Linked DNA regions of Homo sapiens: all the other regions are linked to region 3. Evidence: promoter capture Hi-C in human tissues and cell types (Jung and others, 2019). All regions are on one chromosome and are shown on one strand. Each heading gives the region's core, a stretch centred on a gene start or on the middle of the fragment in contact. The rest is flanking DNA. Distances are from core to core; before and after follow the strand shown. Region 1 overlaps EP300 (EP300 lysine acetyltransferase). Region 2 overlaps SREBF2 (sterol regulatory element binding transcription factor 2). Region 3 holds the start of POLR3H (RNA polymerase III subunit H).

The links. Contacts are between HindIII fragments. The study calls those that stand out against the background at their distance.
Region 1: a contact is called between a fragment that was not itself captured here and the fragment with the promoter of POLR3H in region 3, in 1 of the 25 tissues and cell types used here (spleen).
Region 2: a fragment that was not itself captured here is called in contact with the fragment with the promoter of POLR3H in region 3 in 1 of the 25 tissues and cell types used here (liver).

The regions. Positions count from the first base shown.
Region 1 is chr22:41,163,914-41,166,613 of GRCh38, forward strand. It overlaps EP300 (EP300 lysine acetyltransferase), which reads left to right. Exons shown (of 31, transcript NM_001429.4): 22 at 140-217; 23 at 2,686-2,700. Among named protein-coding and RNA genes, the nearest start is that of EP300-AS1, 32 kb to the right of the region's middle. The HindIII fragment of the contact is 6,950 bases long and covers 1-2,700 here.
Region 2 is chr22:41,844,649-41,847,348 of GRCh38, forward strand. The region is part of intron 1 of SREBF2 (sterol regulatory element binding transcription factor 2); the gene reads left to right. Among named protein-coding and RNA genes, the nearest start is that of SREBF2-AS1, 11 kb to the left of the region's middle. RefSeq lists an enhancer at 1,816-2,616. The HindIII fragment of the contact is 6,451 bases long and covers 1-2,700 here.
Region 3 is chr22:41,543,139-41,545,838 of GRCh38, forward strand. It overlaps POLR3H (RNA polymerase III subunit H), which reads right to left and starts at 1,332. Exons shown (of 6, transcript NM_001018050.4): 1 at 853-1,332. The coding sequence starts at 963. RefSeq lists enhancers at 693-1,530, 853-952, 963-1,052 and silencers at 1,103-1,232, 1,423-1,522. The HindIII fragment of the contact is 26,348 bases long and covers 1-2,700 here.

The sequences.
Region 1 (2,700 bases), core at 201-2,700, 380 kb before region 3:
AAATAGAAACTTTATTAAAACTATTTTCAGTTCTTTGGTCATGACCTTGGCTGTCTTTGTCAGAAGTCATGGGAAATATTGCAAGTTTTCATTTGGTTAAGGTTTGGGGTTAATTTTGGAATTGGCTCTGCTCTTCCAGGTTTGTTGAATGTACAGAGTGCGGAAGAAAGATGCATCAGATCTGTGTCCTTCACCATGAGATCATCTGGCCTGCTGGGTAAGTCTTAACGTTGTTACTTTCTCTGGAATTTTTCTTTATCGTGAATATTAACAAGTTTTTTATTCTATGCAATTGACTGTATTATATCTTCAAAGTTACTATCTTTAAATTGTTTTCTTTGGGTTTGGCCACGATAATTATAGTTCGCTTTTTAAAAATTAAGTAACCTAGTATCCAAAAATAGATTTTTATCTTATTTTTATGCATTCTTCTTAGCCATATAAATATATTTTATTCTGCTGGATTGTTTATTAAAATTATATTGTAGTTATTACACATCAAAAGTAAATATTTATGGCCAGGCGAGGTGGCTCACGCCTGTAATCCCAGCACTTTGGGAGGCCGAGGCGGGCGGATCACCTGAGGACAGGGGTTCCAGACCAGCCTGACCAACATGGCAAAACCTCGTGTCTACTGAAAATACAAAAATTAGCCTGGCGTGGTGGTGCACGCCTGTAATCCAGCTACTCAGGAGGGAGGCTGAGGGAAGAGAATCACTTGAACCTGTGAGGGGGAGGTTGCAGTGAGCTGAGATCACGCCACTGCACTCCAGCCTGGGTGACAGAGTGAGACTCTGTCTCAAAGAAAAAAGTAAATGCTTTTGTTCCGGCATCTAGAAACTAGGATCATGCTGCTGGCATGAATAGGTCTGGCCCTGGTAAGGGTCACCATTTGGTTAGGGCAGGAACAGCAAGTTATAAGGCTGCAGTCATAGTGTAATTGCCTAGTAAAAGGGAGGGGCCATCGCTCTGTACAAGAGGAACTAATCCCAGCCATGTTCCAAAGGAAGCGGGTATATGGGACATCCAGTGCCTCTCATTAAGATGGGATCTCCATCTCTTCTGCTCTGTTCTTGGGCTGATTGTTGTTCCTGATTTGGAGGTTACAAGAAAGGGCAGGCTAATTGACAGATTTCACTTTTCTTTTTTTCACCGTTATTTTCACATAGAAAATAACACTAAGGAAAATAGGTGATGGTTTAGTGGATACTTTATTTTCAGTGTGACTTGTCTTTTAAGTGTGCCTTTTTAGTGCTTTCCTTAACAGATTTCGTAAGAATGATTAAGAGACTTCTTGTGGTTCTTCTAATTTAGGATCAGTCAACTGAATGAAAATAATCTGTTATTACTGTGTTAAGCTTGCTTTTTCTTAAAAGTAATTTATGTTCATTATAAAATTTGAATAGTATGACAGTTTATGAAGTAAAAAGCGACGGTCTCAGCTTCTCTCTTCCCACCCAGATTCCTCACTACAGGAATAACACTCTTTTGTACATACAATCATACATTTTCTTTTTTTCTTTTTTTGAGACAGAGTTTCGCTCTTGTTGCCCAGGCTGGAGTGCAGTGGCGCGATCTCGGCTCACTGCAACCTCTGCCTCCCAGGTTCAAGTGATTCTCCTGCCTCAGCCTCCCTAGTAGCTGGGATTATAGGTGTGTGCCACCATGCCCGGCTAATTTTTGTATTTTGGTAGAGACAGGGTTTCATCATATTGGTCAGGCTGGTCTTGAACTCCCGACCTCAGGTGATCCACCCACCTCGGCCTCCCGAAGTGCTGGGATTACAGCATGAGCCACTGCACCTGGCACATTTTCTTGATTTATGTGTATTTAATTTTTAATTTTTGTATTTTGTTATAAGTCATAGACTTTTTTAATTGAGTCTCACTTTCATCACCCAGGCTGGAGTGCAATGGTGTGATCTCAGCTCACTGCAACCTCCACCTCCTGGGTTCAGGCAATTCTCCTGCCTCAGCCTCTCCTGCCTCAGCCTCTCGAGTAGCTGGGATTACAGGCACATACCACCATGTCTGACCAATTCTTGTATTTTTACTAGAGACAGGGTTTCATTATGTTGGTCAGGGTGGTCTTGAACTCCTGACCTCAAAAGATCCACCCACCTCGACCTCCCAAAGTACTGGGATTACAGGCGGGAGCCACCACGCCTGGCTGGTCATAGACACTCATTTATGTCTGCTGCATTTTTAATGGATGCATAGTATTCTGTAACATACTATAATCCATTTATTTACTTGGTTGATGAACAAGTTTATACAAGAAACTACTTAGGAGACAAATATCATGTGCATTTGCAGTAGCTGAATCTATTGGTTCTACTCTCAAAATGTACTTTCCAACTAGTAGCATATAGGAAATGTCACCTCTTAGGATTTTTCTCCCCTATCACATTAGCAAAACCTATCTTGATTTGTAATCCTTGATCATCTTTTCCTGTGTAAACCAATTTATATGCCCTTCATGTTTCTTCATGTCTGTTGCTTGATTTTCAATTATCTTTTTTATTCTTACTGATTTCTAAAAGCTCTTTGTGTATTAGTTTTATTAACTCTTCATTAGAAATTTAGAAATACTTCTGCTAGATTGTCTTTTGAATTTTAACTTTTTGTTAGTATAAATTCAACGGTTTATCTAAGTTGTGTAAGCAAAGTTTTGGTTTACATTTAGATTCGTCTGTGATGG
Region 2 (2,700 bases), core at 23-2,522, 300 kb after region 3:
CCCTTACAAGCTTGCTCCTCCACGTGGCCCTGTGGAACAGGTCTGTTGGGTTCAGGATCTAGTTTGGAACAGTGATGAAATTTCGAGCTGCTGAACCAGATATGGAACTGCTTTGCTAACCTGGTGTCTGCCCAGCTTAAGCCCCCTCCATCCCACAGCTGTGAAAGGAAATCATGCTTCTTCCCAAGTGCTAACATTCCTGTGAGGCCTTACACTTTACCCAAGTCCTCCTGATACATTTGTCTTCCTAATAAGTGCTATAAAATTGAGGCTTGATTTCCACCCCCACCCCCCACCCCCACAAGAGTCCTGCTCTGTCGCCCAGGCTAGGGTGCAGTGGCACGATCTCTGCTCACTGCGACCTCTGCCTCCTGGGTTCAAGCAATTCTCCTGTCTCCTGTAATCCCGAGTAGCTGGGATTACAGGTGTGTGCCACTATGCCAGGCTAATTTTTGTATTTTTAGTAAAGATGAGGTTTCAACATGTTGGCCATGCTGGTCTTGAACTCCTTACCTCGTGATCCACCTGCCTTGGCCTCCCAAAGTGCTGCGATTACAGGTGTGAGCCACTGCGCCTGCCCATGGCTTGATTTTTATGCCCATTTTCCATGGACATAGATGAAGGCACTGAGACAGAGAAATTAGATGATTTGCCAATGCTTCCTATGCTGATGACGGGGAATGAACTTGGATTTTCTGATGTGGGATTCCATATTCTTCGCTGTCCTATGAAAATGAGGTGGGAGATGCCTTGATTCAGGAAGCCTGTCTGTCTAGGAGCCCCTTCTCTGGTCAAAAGTTGTTTTTAAAAAATCCTTGCTGCATTTCAACGTGAATGAGTATCCACTGTATTCATAGCACAGTGCTAGAAGCTGTTAGAGTTGAATGAAATGGCCTCTGCTTTCAGGGAGCTAACATGTAAACATCCAGTCATAATACATGGGAAAATACAACAGAGGCTATAACAGAGGAACAACTCTAAATCTTTGGAGGACTGAGGAAGGGAATTAGAAAAATCTTCACAAGGACTTTGGCATTTGGGCTGAATTGTGAAGGGTGAGTAAATAGGATTTTAGAAGGTAAAGGAGCAGGCATGGTGTTTATTTAGATAGATTTAGACAAAGTTGGGAATAATTTGGCATGCTCTAGGAATATGTGTGTCAGAGTACTGCATAGGACAGAGGTTCTCAAACTTGAATGTGTCTATGAACTCCCAGGGTATACCCCCAAAGATCTGAATGTGGAAGGTCTGGGATGTTGTCCAACAGGAACACCTAACTAGTGGAGGGGGCAGGATCAGAGGAGCCTTCTCAGGGATAAGCTGAGGTCTTAAAGGGGTGGAAGGAGAGAGCAGCTGTGTTCCAGGCTGAGTGAACAGCCATTTTGAAGGGCTTGACCAGTGCTGGTGCTCGAGTGTCTGGGTTTTGTGTAGACCACACTCTTGATAACTGTGCTGTTCGTTATCTTCCACAAACAGGGTTTTGGTCAGGTGCCTCCTTGCTTCAGTGTGTTCTTTATCAGTCAGGATTCTTGGTGATAAGCAGCAGAAACCGCTTCTATCTAGCTTGAACAGAAAAGGATTTGTTAGAAGGGTGGTTCTTGGAGTGACTAGAAAAGCTGGAGAGCCAATTTGGAAAATGGGCCAGAACCAAGGAGGCTCCTGCTTAGTACTCCTCCGCCTTCATGATCTGTATATTGTCTCTGCTTTCCTGGGTCATTCCCTCAAGGGTCGCACTCCTGGTGGGAGGATGCATTAATCAGAGCTGACTGGCAGGAAACCTTCCCTCACATGAGGACTGCCCAATGGGGATTCTCCAAAGGAAGATCAGGGTGCTAATGGGAGGGTCGGGTCTGATGATGGACAAATGGAACAAAAGTGGCAAATGCCCACCATGTATTCTGTGCCTTTCCTTGCCTCTGAAATAAAAGCAGTTTCTGCCGCCAAATATACATGGTAGCATTAAGTCAGGCCTTTCACAGGCAGCTCCATCTCTCCATTTTGCACCGTGCTGTCTCTACTTCAGCAGCTGGCAGGACATTTCCTGATACTGTGGTTTTGCTCAAACTATTTCCTTTGCCTGGAATACCCTTCCCTCTCTCTAATTTATAAACCCTTTTCATCCGTTAAGCTCGGTTTTCACTGCCTGCCAGGATGGATCAGTCCTTTCTCTGCTCTCTGACAGCCCTTTCTTTGTGAGGCACTTGTCTGTTCTTGCCCTTGTCGCAGTTTATGGAGTTGGTTAGGTTTCTCTTTCTTCTCTGTGAGCATGGGAGATGGGAAGAAAACGAATACTTTTCAGTCTTTGCCCTGTGCGGAGTTCCACACAAGGCACATAGGATCCTCCAGCTCCCAGCCCAGAGTACATAGTGTATGCAAATTTGAGTGGATGTTTGTATTTGTAGCGTGATTTGATAACCTGCTTTGCAAGTATTCTTTTTCTCTTTAGTTTTAGGGAGATTTGGGGGCATGGTAATGGATGGAAGGGTAAGATGGTGGGATGTTGGGGTCTTTCATTTTTGCCTGAATGGTTTAAGGGCTGAAAAAGGTTGAGATCTCTTGCTTTGTAGACTCTGCCCCCAGGAGGAGGACAGTTCAGGTGAAGTGGCTTGTGCCTGATTTTGTTGGCAGTGGGTCACCTGAAATGTGAAATGTGAGGGCCTCCTTTTGCAGAACAGGGTCATGCAGGATCAGTTCCTTGGA
Region 3 (2,700 bases), core at 82-2,581:
AGGAAAGAGAGTGATGTGACACAGAATACCTGGAAAGGGAGGACTGTCAAAGAAACGGCAGTGGGAAGACCTCTCAGCTGGTACTAAGGCACACAGGCACAGCACAGAGAAGGCGCACAAATATTGGCTGCTGGAATGAAGGGATGAACCTCCTGACAGTTAATTCTGTACTACTAGAACTCTCCATCTTCACGAAAACAATGCATTGACCCGAGGCGATGGCGCACACCTGTAATCCCAGCACTTTGGGAGGCCGAGGCGGGGGGATCAAGAGATCGAGACCATCCTGGCCAAAATGGTGAAACCCCGTCTCTACGAAAAATACAAAAATTAGCTGGGGGTGGTGGCGCGCGCCTGTAGTTGTCCCAGCTACTCGGGAGGCTGGGGCAGGAGAATCGCTTGAACCCGGGAGGCGGAGGTTGCAGTGAGCCGAGATCGCGCCACTGCACTCCAGCCTGGACGAAAGAGCAAGACTCCGTCTCAAAAACAAAAAACAAAACAAAACAAAACAAACAACAACAACAACAAAAACAATGCATGGCTGGAAGGACAGCAATATTTTATCCCCATTTTAAAAATGGAAACTGAGGCCCAGAAGGGGTCAGTAACTTGCCTGCAATTGCAAAGTAATTTAGAATTGTGGAATCTAACACTTCCAGTTACAACTCCCTTTTTCAAGCCCATTTTCTTTTGATCCCCTTCAATATCTCCTTTCACGGTGAAGAAAAGTTCTGAGACATTAAGCTGCTTGCCCACGGCCAGGGCTTGGCATGACCGAGGCCGGGCCTGCGGCCAGTGGGCGGCGCTCGCTCTCCCACGCCAAGGCCTGCCCGCGAGCCGTGGGCCCAGTACCTTGTTGGCCAACTTCTTGTTCAGCTCCTCGGCAATGGAGTCGTTGAGCTTCCTCTCAAACTGCCAAGGGGGGATCCGGACGGTGTCCACCATTTCCACCAGGACGAACATCCCGGCCTGCGCTGGGGGCTCTGGGAACAGGAGGGTCAGTCACGCACCAGGGCCGGGGGCAGGGAGAATCCCCGAGCCCCTTGGTCCCGTCCCAGTCGCTGAGGCCCCCAGGCTGGCGGTGAGGTTGCACGGGGCGGTCTCGGGGGCCCGGTCCGGGCCATGCTCCGCTACTACAACATGAGGAAACTGAGGCCAGAGGGAGGCACTCTCCGTCCACAGCTCCGGGTGCGCGCCCGCGCCGCGAGACCCCGCCACGCCACGCCACTCCACGCCACGCCACTCCACGCCCCGCACCCGCGCCACGTGCCGCCGCTCGTATCACGCACCACGCACCACGCACCGCGCACAGCCGCTCGCGCTTGCGCGACTGCGGGCGAGATTCCGAATCCATCGCTTCCGGAAAACTCACCAATAAGAAACCTCTGTCCACCCCCACCCCGCCGAGGCGGGGCGGGGCTGCCTGTGTGCTCGCGCACAGCGTGGGGCAGAGAGAGGGCGAGGAGAGGGCGGGGCCTCCTCCTTTCACAGGAGCAGAGCGGTTCCCCCGCCCCCGACAGCGCTTTCTGTTGCTAGGCGACCTCCGTGCAATCCCGCCTGATTATCCCTCGCCTGGCCTGTGCTTTACCCGCATTGCTGTCCTCTGCTCGGCAGCCAGAGTGATCCTTTGGAAACGCAAACATATATTACCACATCTAAGTTAAAAAAAAAACCCACCGCAAACATAACATGCTTAGCACCCTTAAGTGTTCCGGAGACAAGGAGAATTAGCAGGAAAGGGGCACTTGGGACTGTTCTGAGATGATGGAAATGTTCTGTATTTTGTTTTCGGTGGTATAACATTGACGTATATAATTGTCCAAACTAATTGAACTCGGCAAGATTTTTGCATTTATTTGTAGACATTATGTTCCAATTGAAAAGTTATAATAAATTGGAACAAAAAACACAACCCATTGAACTTAGAATACTAGATCCAAGCCGGGCGTGGTGGTGTACACCCGTAGTCCCACCTACTCAGAAGCCTGAGACAGCAGCATCGCTTGAGTCCAGGAGTTTGAGGTTGCAGTTTGAGGTTGCATGCTGCACTCTAGCATGGGTGACAGTGACACCTCATGTCTAAACGAAAAAGAAGAAGAAGGAGAGGCGGAAGAAGAAGAAAGAAGAAGGAGAAGAAGAAGAAGAAAGAAGAAAGAAAAGGGAAAGAAGAAAGAAAAGAAGAAAGAAAGAAGAAAAGTCCAAAACCTTTATGGTAGTTCACACGGCCCTGCAAGATCTGACCATACCCCCCTCCTATAGCCCCATCATGCTCTGTCTCGCTGACATTCCAGTCTCATTCATCTTCACGTGATAGCATGGGCTAAGAGAATTTGGTAGCTTACCCAAGATCACGTGTTGACAAGTGGTAGAGGTGGGCCCAGTCTGAACCTCACTACCCTGCCTCTAAAAATTGGTGGGGTGTAGATGTATACTGTAGTGGGTTTTTTTGTTTGTTTGTTTGTTTGAGACGGAGGATCGCTCTGTCGCCCAGGCTGGAGTGCAGTGGCGCGATCTTGGCTCACTGCAAGCTCCGCCTCTCGGGTTCACGCCATTCTCCTGCCTTAGCCTCCCGAGTAGCTGAGACTACAGGCGCCCACCATCACGCCTGGCTAATTTTTCGTATTTTTTTTTAGTAGAGACGAGGTTTCACCGTGTTAGCCAGGATGGTCTCGATCTCCTGACCTCATGATCTGCCCACCT